Regions from separate parts of the Homo sapiens genome. Here region 1 is linked to region 2. Evidence: promoter capture Hi-C in 16 types of primary human blood cells and fetal thymus (Javierre and others, 2016). All regions are on one chromosome and are shown on one strand. Each heading gives the region's core, a stretch centred on a gene start or on the middle of the fragment in contact. The rest is flanking DNA. Distances are from core to core; before and after follow the strand shown. Region 1 overlaps SPOCD1 (SPOC domain containing 1). Region 2 holds the start of SNRNP40 (small nuclear ribonucleoprotein U5 subunit 40).

Evidence for each region. The method cuts DNA at HindIII sites, captures the fragments that hold promoters and counts their contacts. A CHiCAGO score of 5 or more calls a contact.
Region 1: a contact is called between a fragment that was not itself captured here and the fragment with the promoter of SNRNP40 in region 2, in 1 of 17 cell types (neutrophils). The highest score is 6.5, in neutrophils.

The regions. Positions count from the first base shown.
Region 1 is chr1:31,788,132-31,792,423 of GRCh38, reverse strand. It overlaps SPOCD1 (SPOC domain containing 1), which reads left to right. Exons shown (of 16, transcript NM_144569.7): 15 at 23-209; 16 at 1,133-2,002. The coding sequence ends at 1,821. Among named protein-coding and RNA genes, the nearest start is that of SPOCD1, 26 kb to the left of the region's middle. RefSeq lists silencers at 3,032-3,321, 3,652-3,701 and an enhancer at 3,487-4,262. The HindIII fragment of the contact is 2,297 bases long and covers 410-2,706 here.
Region 2 is chr1:31,294,410-31,298,428 of GRCh38, reverse strand. It overlaps SNRNP40 (small nuclear ribonucleoprotein U5 subunit 40), which reads left to right and starts at 1,641. Exons shown (of 10, transcript NM_004814.3): 1 at 1,641-1,818. The coding sequence starts at 1,678. ZCCHC17 (zinc finger CCHC-type containing 17) reads right to left here and starts at 1,397. Exons shown (of 8, transcript NM_016505.4): 1 at 1,354-1,397. RefSeq lists an enhancer at 1,663-1,872. The HindIII fragment of the contact is 7,877 bases long and covers 1-4,019 here.

The DNA.
Region 1 (4,292 bases), core at 309-2,808, 490 kb before region 2:
TGCTCTCCTCCTGCCACCGCAGGACGTCTGCGTGGTCAGACTGTGCCCACATGGGGCCCGGGACACCCAGAACTGCCGCCTGCTCTACTCATACCTCAATGATAGGCAGCGCCACGGGCTGGCCTCTGTGGAGCACATGGGGATGGTCCTGCTGCCCCTGCCTGCCTTCCAGCCCCTGCCCACCAGGCTGCGCCCTTTGGGGGGCCCAGGTGAGTGCCTAGTCCCCATACCAGACCCTGCCTCTGCTCACTTGGTGACCAGACCAGGCACGGTTGACACAGTCACCCAGTAGAGGCAGGCACATCTCAGAAGGGAACTCCTCACCCAGCCAGGCAAATGTGAGTACAATGACAGTAATAGCTCACGCTTGGATATCATGAACTGCATGCCAGCCATTGTTCTAAAAGCTTTACCTAGATGAATTCTTGTAGTCTCATCACCCTATGAGAATGGTACTATTAGACTAGACTGTCCATCTCATAGAAGAAGAATCTGAGGGAGGAAGAAGGCAAATGACTTGTCCAAAGTCACACAGTCAGTCAACAGCAGAACTGGGCTTCACTCTGTTCACACGTTGTGTGAAGCACAACATGGCTTCAGAAACCTGGCCCCTAACCACCACACCACACTGCCTCTCAAGGTAGGCACCCCTGAAGAGAAACTCCAGGGACAGCCACATTTGACCCAGGCAGCAGGACAGAGTCAGGACCTACACACACTTGACTGTAAATGTCACCTCAGAGAGGAGGGAGGGATGTTTCGCCACAGCCACGGGGGGCCGAGCTCGGCCTCTGTGCATGGACACCCTCCACGGCGTGGCTCAGGAAAGCAGCGAGGTTGGCAGTGGGCGCTTTGCCCACTCCTGAGCAAAGCGCTTGGCCTTTTGGGGCTCCATGTCCTGAGACAATGAGGTAGACTTTGAGTCTGTAGAGTCTTCAGGTCAAACAATCCATACCCCAGCCTCAGCCAGATAAGCCTTGATCCCGCAGAGCTCAAATCTTCCGAGACAGCCCCACCTTCCTACTTACTTTTCCCAGCATCTCATGGGCCCCATCTCACTGTGAAGAAGCCCTTCCTGGGATGTAGGCTCCAGATCTGCTGCAGCTAAGCTGAACACAGTTCTTCCCCGCAGGCCTTTGGGCTCTTCCTGTCTCCCCTCTCCTTTCCCCAGGTCTGGAGGTCACTCACTCAAGTCTGTTGCTGGCTGTGCTGCTCCCCAAGGAAGGGCTTCCAGACACAGCAGGGTCCAGCCCCTGGTTGGGGAAGGTTCAAAAGATGGTCTCCTTCAACAGTAAGGTGGAGAAGAGATACTATCAGCCAGATGACAGGAGGCCGAATGTGCCCCTGAAGGGCACCCCTCCCCCAGGAGGTGCCTGGCAGCAGAGCCAGGGCAGGGGCAGTATAGCTCCAAGGGGAATCTCTGCTTGGCAGAGGCCCCCCAGAGGCAGGGGGAGGCTCTGGCCAGAGCCTGAAAACTGGCAGCATCCTGGGCGAGGGCAGTGGCCCCCAGAGCCAGGCTTGCGCCAGTCCCAGCATCCCTATTCAGTAGCACCAGCTGGTCATGGCTTTGGCCGTGGCCAGCACTTCCACAGGGACTCCTGTCCCCACCAAGCCCTGCTCCGGCACCTCGAATCCCTGGCGACCATGAGTCACCAGCTCCAAGCCTTACTGTGCCCCCAGACCAAGAGCTCCATCCCCCGCCCTCTGCAGCGTTTGTCTAGCGCCCTTGCAGCTCCAGAGCCCCCTGGCCCAGCCCGTGACTCCTCTTTGGGGCCTACAGATGAAGCTGGCTCTGAGTGTCCCTTCCCTAGAAAGGCCTGACCCTCCTTACCCACCAGAACAGGGGTTTTGATGCCCTCACTAGTGTTGAAGCCTGTTCCAGAGAGAGGTGGGACTGCAAGGAGAGGATGGTCAGCCCTACCCACCTGCCCTGTTTGAACTTCCTGTTTGACAATGTTTGCTGTTGATTTTTTGTTCAATAAAGAATTTGGTAAAATTGGGATTGCATCTGCTAGCTGGTCAGGAGAGCCCCTGGTCCTGGTCAGATGTGGGTTGAGTGGGTGTGTCAGTGAGTGTCTTGTGCACAAATGTGCAGCCTTGCTCATTGCTGGTCTGAGGTCCTGAACCATCACTGCGCCCCAGGGCACAGCTATTGCCACGGTGGTTTCTGGAAGCATTTTGCAAGTATTCTGAACCAGGAGGAAGAGGTGGTGGTGGGAAAGAAAGTAGGACCGAGGTTGGGGGTGGAGAGAGAAATGGACAGAGCCTTTTGGAGGGTCACAGACATCAGACATCAAGAGATTGCTAGAGAGGAAAAGATAAGCAAGTTGCAGTGGACTTTAAATTTTTCAGTTAATACTAAGATTTTTTTTTCCTTTGACTAGATGGGGAAGGATAGTACATACCTTCACCATATTCCCTCCGAGTCTCTGTCTATGTGCTTCTCAGGGATCTCTGTGCACTAGTGTGCCTGCAAGCATGTGAGAGTATCTGTGTGAGTTTCATGGCCTGCCTGTGTGTAGGTCTCTGTTGAGGAAGTCAGGAGATCCAGATTGGGTGACTCCTCTCTGTATCTCTTGCCAGATTCCAGAGACTGGTGTTAGAAAATGTCAAAGGTCTTAGCCTTGGTGGTGGGCATTCAGGGTGGGGTTGGAGACTGGTATTAGGGTTGGACGGTGCTGCCTTGCCTTGGGCCTAGAACAAGCTTCTAACAGCAACTGCAACTGTCAAGCGTTTCATGTGGGGTGTACCTCGAGAGAGCTGCATCTGCGGACTGATGGGGGAACCAGCTGCCAGGGCCAACCAACCCAGCGTGGGGAAAGGGGCCTGGCTTCCAGGAGAGAACCTCTCTAGAACCCCACCCTTCGCCCCGGGGCCAGAAGGGCCCTACCCGCTCTTTGCTCACCCCTTCGCAAAGTCCACCCATGTACAGGCCTCACCCTGGCCCCTGCTGGACTGGAAGGGGTGGGGCGATGGTCGGTTGGGGGAGCCCTTCTTCTCTGCCCCATGAGCTCTGCGGCTGCCCTACCCGCGGACGACAGCAGAGGGGGCCCTCGGCCTTGGGATGGAGGTCGGGGCTGGCAGGACCGGAGTCAAAGCGGGGGGTGGGGCGAGGTGCGGGAACTTAGCGCAAGGAGTTGGAAGCGGGGGCGGGGTAGGATGCGGGTGGGGTGCGGGTGAGGGGTAGGGAGAGGGGGCTGGACAGTTGAACCGGGAGAGGGAGCGGGGCTCCTTCGGGAACTTTTCCGGCTCGAAATGGCCTGGGAGCGCCGCAGCCTCCGCGCTCTATGCAAATGACGCAAATTACTATGCAAACCTACAGCTTGGTTCTGAGCCCACAGTTTGGGTGGTTTTCCTAATGCAGTTGGTATGGAGGGAAACGGGTGTGCACTCCCTCCCCTCCAGGTCCAGGGCTTCCTCCGGAGAGCCGCCAGAGCCGCTCTCCTGGAACACGCAGGCAAGAGCGAGCTCTGTACCCTGGGCAGGGATTTCCTTTGGGAGCTTCAGTTTTCCCTTCTGTAAATGGGGGTGATAACGCGGCTCTGTAACAGCTCGCCCGTGGAAGGGCTGTAGGTGGGCCCCGAAATCCTGCAGCCTGCTAAACATGACACCCTCCCCCACCCCCGCCACCTTTTGGCCCCAGTCCACGAGCCCCTTGCCCCTCTCTCTCTCGGCAGAAGCCTGGAGCGAGGATTAGGCATGACGTTGCTAGGGGGCGTGACTGACGGTTGCTAGGCTCCAGGGACGTTGCTATGCAACGCTGGGCGGGGCTTGTTGTTGCTAGGCCGGAGCCGGAATCGCCCGGGACCCGGAAGGGACACCTCGCGCCCTGGGTTTTAGTGGAAGGCGCCCCAGGCTACCAGGGATCGCGACACTGCTCTCCCGGTGACTTTCTTCGGGCCTGAGCTTCCCCCGGCTGGACGCAGTTTCTGAGGGTCCTTCCGGTTCACACTCTGCCACTCCGTGATCCTCTTGGCTCCGGAGTGAAGAACCCTGCGTCTTTGTGCACGTGTCTGTGCGCCTGCCTGTGAGGGGGGTGGGGGTGCAGAGCGGGTATCGCTTTTGGATTTCCATAGCAACTGCTCCTGTGTCACCCCATTGCTCCCAAAGGTTTGAGCGGTTGCTTGTACAAATTTACATATATCTGCATGTCATTAACATAGAGGCGGGGCCGGAACTTGTTTGGGCAACTATCCCTGGACGGTTCTCTTTGCTTCTTCCTCATCCCGTCTGATAGGCATGTGGGCTGCGCATGCGTGAGTGTTTAGCCTGTCCATGTTCTCAGATGTGGG
Region 2 (4,019 bases), core at 392-2,891:
GGGCGACAGAGCAAGAACCTGTCTCAAAAAAAAAAAAAAAACAAAAAAAAACTGGTCTCTAATCATCTTCTAGTGTTCCCTATCCAGCTTGAGGGATTCCGTGATAGTGAGTGAATGGTACCACCATCTATTCAACTACATAAGCCAGAAACCTAGGAGTTACCTTTGATTCCTCTCTTCACTCCCTAAAATCAACCCATCACCAAGTCCCACCCATTTTACCTCCTATATACCTCTAGAATCTGTCCAATTCTCTGCAGTTCCACCCATATCTCAGTCCTCACTGACATCTCTGACCAGGATTACTGCATATCCCAAGTGGTCCACATACATCGACTAGGGCTTCCCCAACCCCCGTCTGTTCACACCACTGAGCCTGAGGGATCAAGTCCCCTCCTCCACCACACCCCACTGGGGGAAGACGGCTCAGTGGTATCTCATCCGTTTTAAAATAAAAGCTACAAATTCCTGCAAGGTCTGACCGCTATCACGTACAGCTTCATCTTGTACCATACTCCCTTCATTCTCTTTGTACCAGCCACACTGGCTCTTTGTGCTTTTAGTCATTTTCCTCCCAAGTGCCTCAGGGCTCTGAACAAGTAGTTCTCTATGGAAGGTTCTGCCTTCACTTCTTCACCTAATTAATTACAACACTTCCTGCAGCTACCAGCGCAGGCATCTTTTCCTCTGAAAAACCTTCCTGCTTATTTCAGGCACTCATAGCATCAGGCAGCAGTAGGAGGCATTTCCATGTATTAGTGAGGTCATTGTTTAACGTTTTCCCCACCAGAGTTAAACGCCCTGAGAGTAGGGACCGTGCCCGGTTCACAACATACCCCCAACGCGCTGCTAAATGAATATCAGCAGGACGACTGAGGCAATGACCACGTTCATGGGCATGAGTCTCAAATTTCTCAACAAGACTGTGCTCTGGAGAAGGAGTCGGACATTTCCTTCATCACTGTCTCTCTCAGGGGGGCATACAGTAGGCCCTGATCAAAAACTGCAAAATCAGTGGCAGAAACAAGTCAGCCTCCTCGGCCAAATGGGGCACCGGAGGAGGCTGGGACGCAGGCCTTTCTCCCTGGGAATGCCCGGCACAGGACTGGCCACGATGGGCGCTCTTGAAGAAGGGAGCCGCAGGGGCTGGGTCTTGCCGCCAGAGACCCCAAGGCTCCGCTCCTGCCCCGAAAGGGAGCCCAGGCTACTACTTACCACAGCTGGGGACTCGGGGCCCGCCTCCCACCCCTTGCTGTCAGCACCCTCAGCTGAGAAGGGCAGGTTCAGACTGCACAACCGAGGCGTCGCCTCCAGACTCAGGCAGCCACCCACCCCGTTCTTCCTCATACGTACTAGGCGTCAGCTCCAGGTCCCCGAGTCGCTGCGCTGAACTAAACGCCGACCCCAGTCAGCCAGCGCGTTTCCACCCACAAGACCCAGCGCGCCTAGGGCGGTCGCCAGCTCCGTCCACCAATCCTGGTATCGCACTCTCATGACGTCAGAAAGATATGCCCAATAACAAGAGACTATCCGAGGGCGGTGCAAATGGAAATATTGAAAGCCGATTGGTTCTTCCAAGCTGGAAGTTGTGGAGGAAGGACTAATTTGGAACCAATTGCGTGGCGCCTGAGAGCGGCAGCGCGGTCAGTGGCGGCGCTGAAGAGACCGGTTGCCGCCATGATAGAACAGCAGAAGCGTAAGGGCCCAGAGTTGCCGCTGGTTCCAGTCAAGCGGCAGCGGCATGAGTTGCTGTTGGGAGCGGGGTCTGGCCCAGGAGCCGGGCAGCAGCAGGCGACGCCGGGAGCCTTGCTGCAAGCGGTAAGTGAAGAAGCAGGCGGCCTTTGGCCCTCAGCTCATCTTCCTCCCCTCAGAGCGCTGTATCTGGTGATCCCTGACCCTTTCCCGCATTGCGGGGGCAGAACGAGAGTTTCTACGCAGAGTTAAAGCACATAAACACTGTAAAAGCTCCCCATAGCCTGCGAATGCTGCGTACGTGTTCCCCCGTTTGGCGCCCGTTTTCAGCCTCTCGACTGCCCTGAGATAGCATTAGAATTAGAGTTGAGGACCTTGGGCTCAAAACCCTGACCCGGGTTTAAGCATCCTGACTCTAACATGGATCTGGCATAGAACAAAAATTCCGAAGAGTGTGTAGAATGAATGAATGAGGGAGGGAAGAAAAAAGGGAAATGATTTGTGTTGGCTCGTTTTGGGACTTTGGGCAAGTTGCTTTTCCCTTTATTTCTCTGCACTAGTATTATTAACAACTAAATAGCAGCTAACATTCATTGACTCTTGTACTAAAGTGTTTCGTATATGAAATTTCCATTGATCTTGGTAGCAGCCTGTTAGGAACGTTATTAACCCATTTTGCAGATGGAAAAACAGACTTACCAAGTACGTGATAGAAGCAGATTTCGAACTGAGAAACCATGCTCCTAACTACATTTTTTGTAAGATAGAAATAGTGATCACACTTCTAATGTCCTGTTTAGGCTCAGACGAGGAAATACGAGTGTCCTCACATCTCCTCAATAAATCCTGCTGGCACCGTCCTCAAAATAGGTCTAGAATTGCTACTTCTACCATCTCCATCATTGCCTCATGGCCTAAGCCATTATTATCTCATCTGGCATTTTTGTAGTGGGACCCTAACTGGTCTTCCACTTTCTACCTTTGTATCAGCACCTGTTACCAAGCCAATAACCAAAGGAATCCTTCTAAACATCAGATCACATTACACTCTGCAGAAAACTTTCTGGTGGCTTTGTACTTCATCCAGAGTAAAAACCAAAATTCTTGTAATTATTTGCCCTCTTTCCCTTTACCTCTCTGACCAATTTCTTATTGCTCACCTGGCTTCAGTTACTCTCTCTTCCAAGCCTCTGCTTCAGGACCTTTGCATTTGCTGTCCTCTCTGTGGGATTGCTCTTCACAAATGTTTACATGGTTTACTATTCAGCTCCTGCGAATATTTGCCCAAATGTAATTTTTTCAGTGAGGATTTTCCTGACCACCCTATTTTAAATTGCAGTACCACATACTGTGGAACCCACATTGCTTCTCTCTCTCTCTTTTTTTGTTTTTTTGTTTTTAGACAATCTCTCTGTGTTGACCACTGGCTCAGTACAGCCTCCACCACCTGGGCTCAAGTGATCCTCCTGCCTCAGCCTCCTGAGTAGCTGGGACCACAGACACACACCACCACATCTAACTAATTGTATTTTTTTGTAGAGACAGGATTTCACTCCTGAGCTCAAGCAATCCGCACACCTTGGCCTCCCAAAATGCTGAGATTACAGGCATGAGCCACCATCCCCATCCCTTCTTTTGCTCTATAGCACATGACACCACATATATAGTTTGCTTGTTTTCTCTCACCTTCCCTTCTCCCTTCCCCCTTTCCCACTGGAACAGCGAGCTCCATTGTTTATTTTGTTCATTGCTGTTTGCCCAGTGCCTAGCACGTAACTTCTTTTTTTTTTTTTTAAGATGGAATTTTGCTCTTGTCACCCAGGCTGGAGTGGAGTGGCGCAATCTCGGTGCACCGCAACCTCCGCCACCCGGGTTCAAGCGATTCTCCTGCCTCAGCCTCCTGAGTGGCTGGAATTACAGGCGCCCGCCACCATGCCTGGCTAATTTTTGTATATTTTTAGTAGAGACGGAGTTTCACCATGTTGGTCAGGCTGGTCTCAAACTTTTGACCTCAAGTGATCCGCCCACCTCAGCCTCCCAAAGTGCTGGGATTACAGGTGTGAGCCACCGCGCCCAGCCTGCACATAACATTTTTTAAAACTAAATGAATCTGGCCGGGCTTGGTGGTGGGTGCCTGTAATCCCAGCCACTCGGGAGGCTGATGCAGGAGAATCGCTTGAACCCAGGAGGCGGAGTTTGCGATGAGACGAGATCACGCCATTGTACTCCAGCCTGGGCAACAGAGCAAGACTCCTTCCCCAAAAAATAAATAAATAAATAAATAAATATGAAAATGCTGGGAAGTACTGAAGAGATTTGGGGATTAT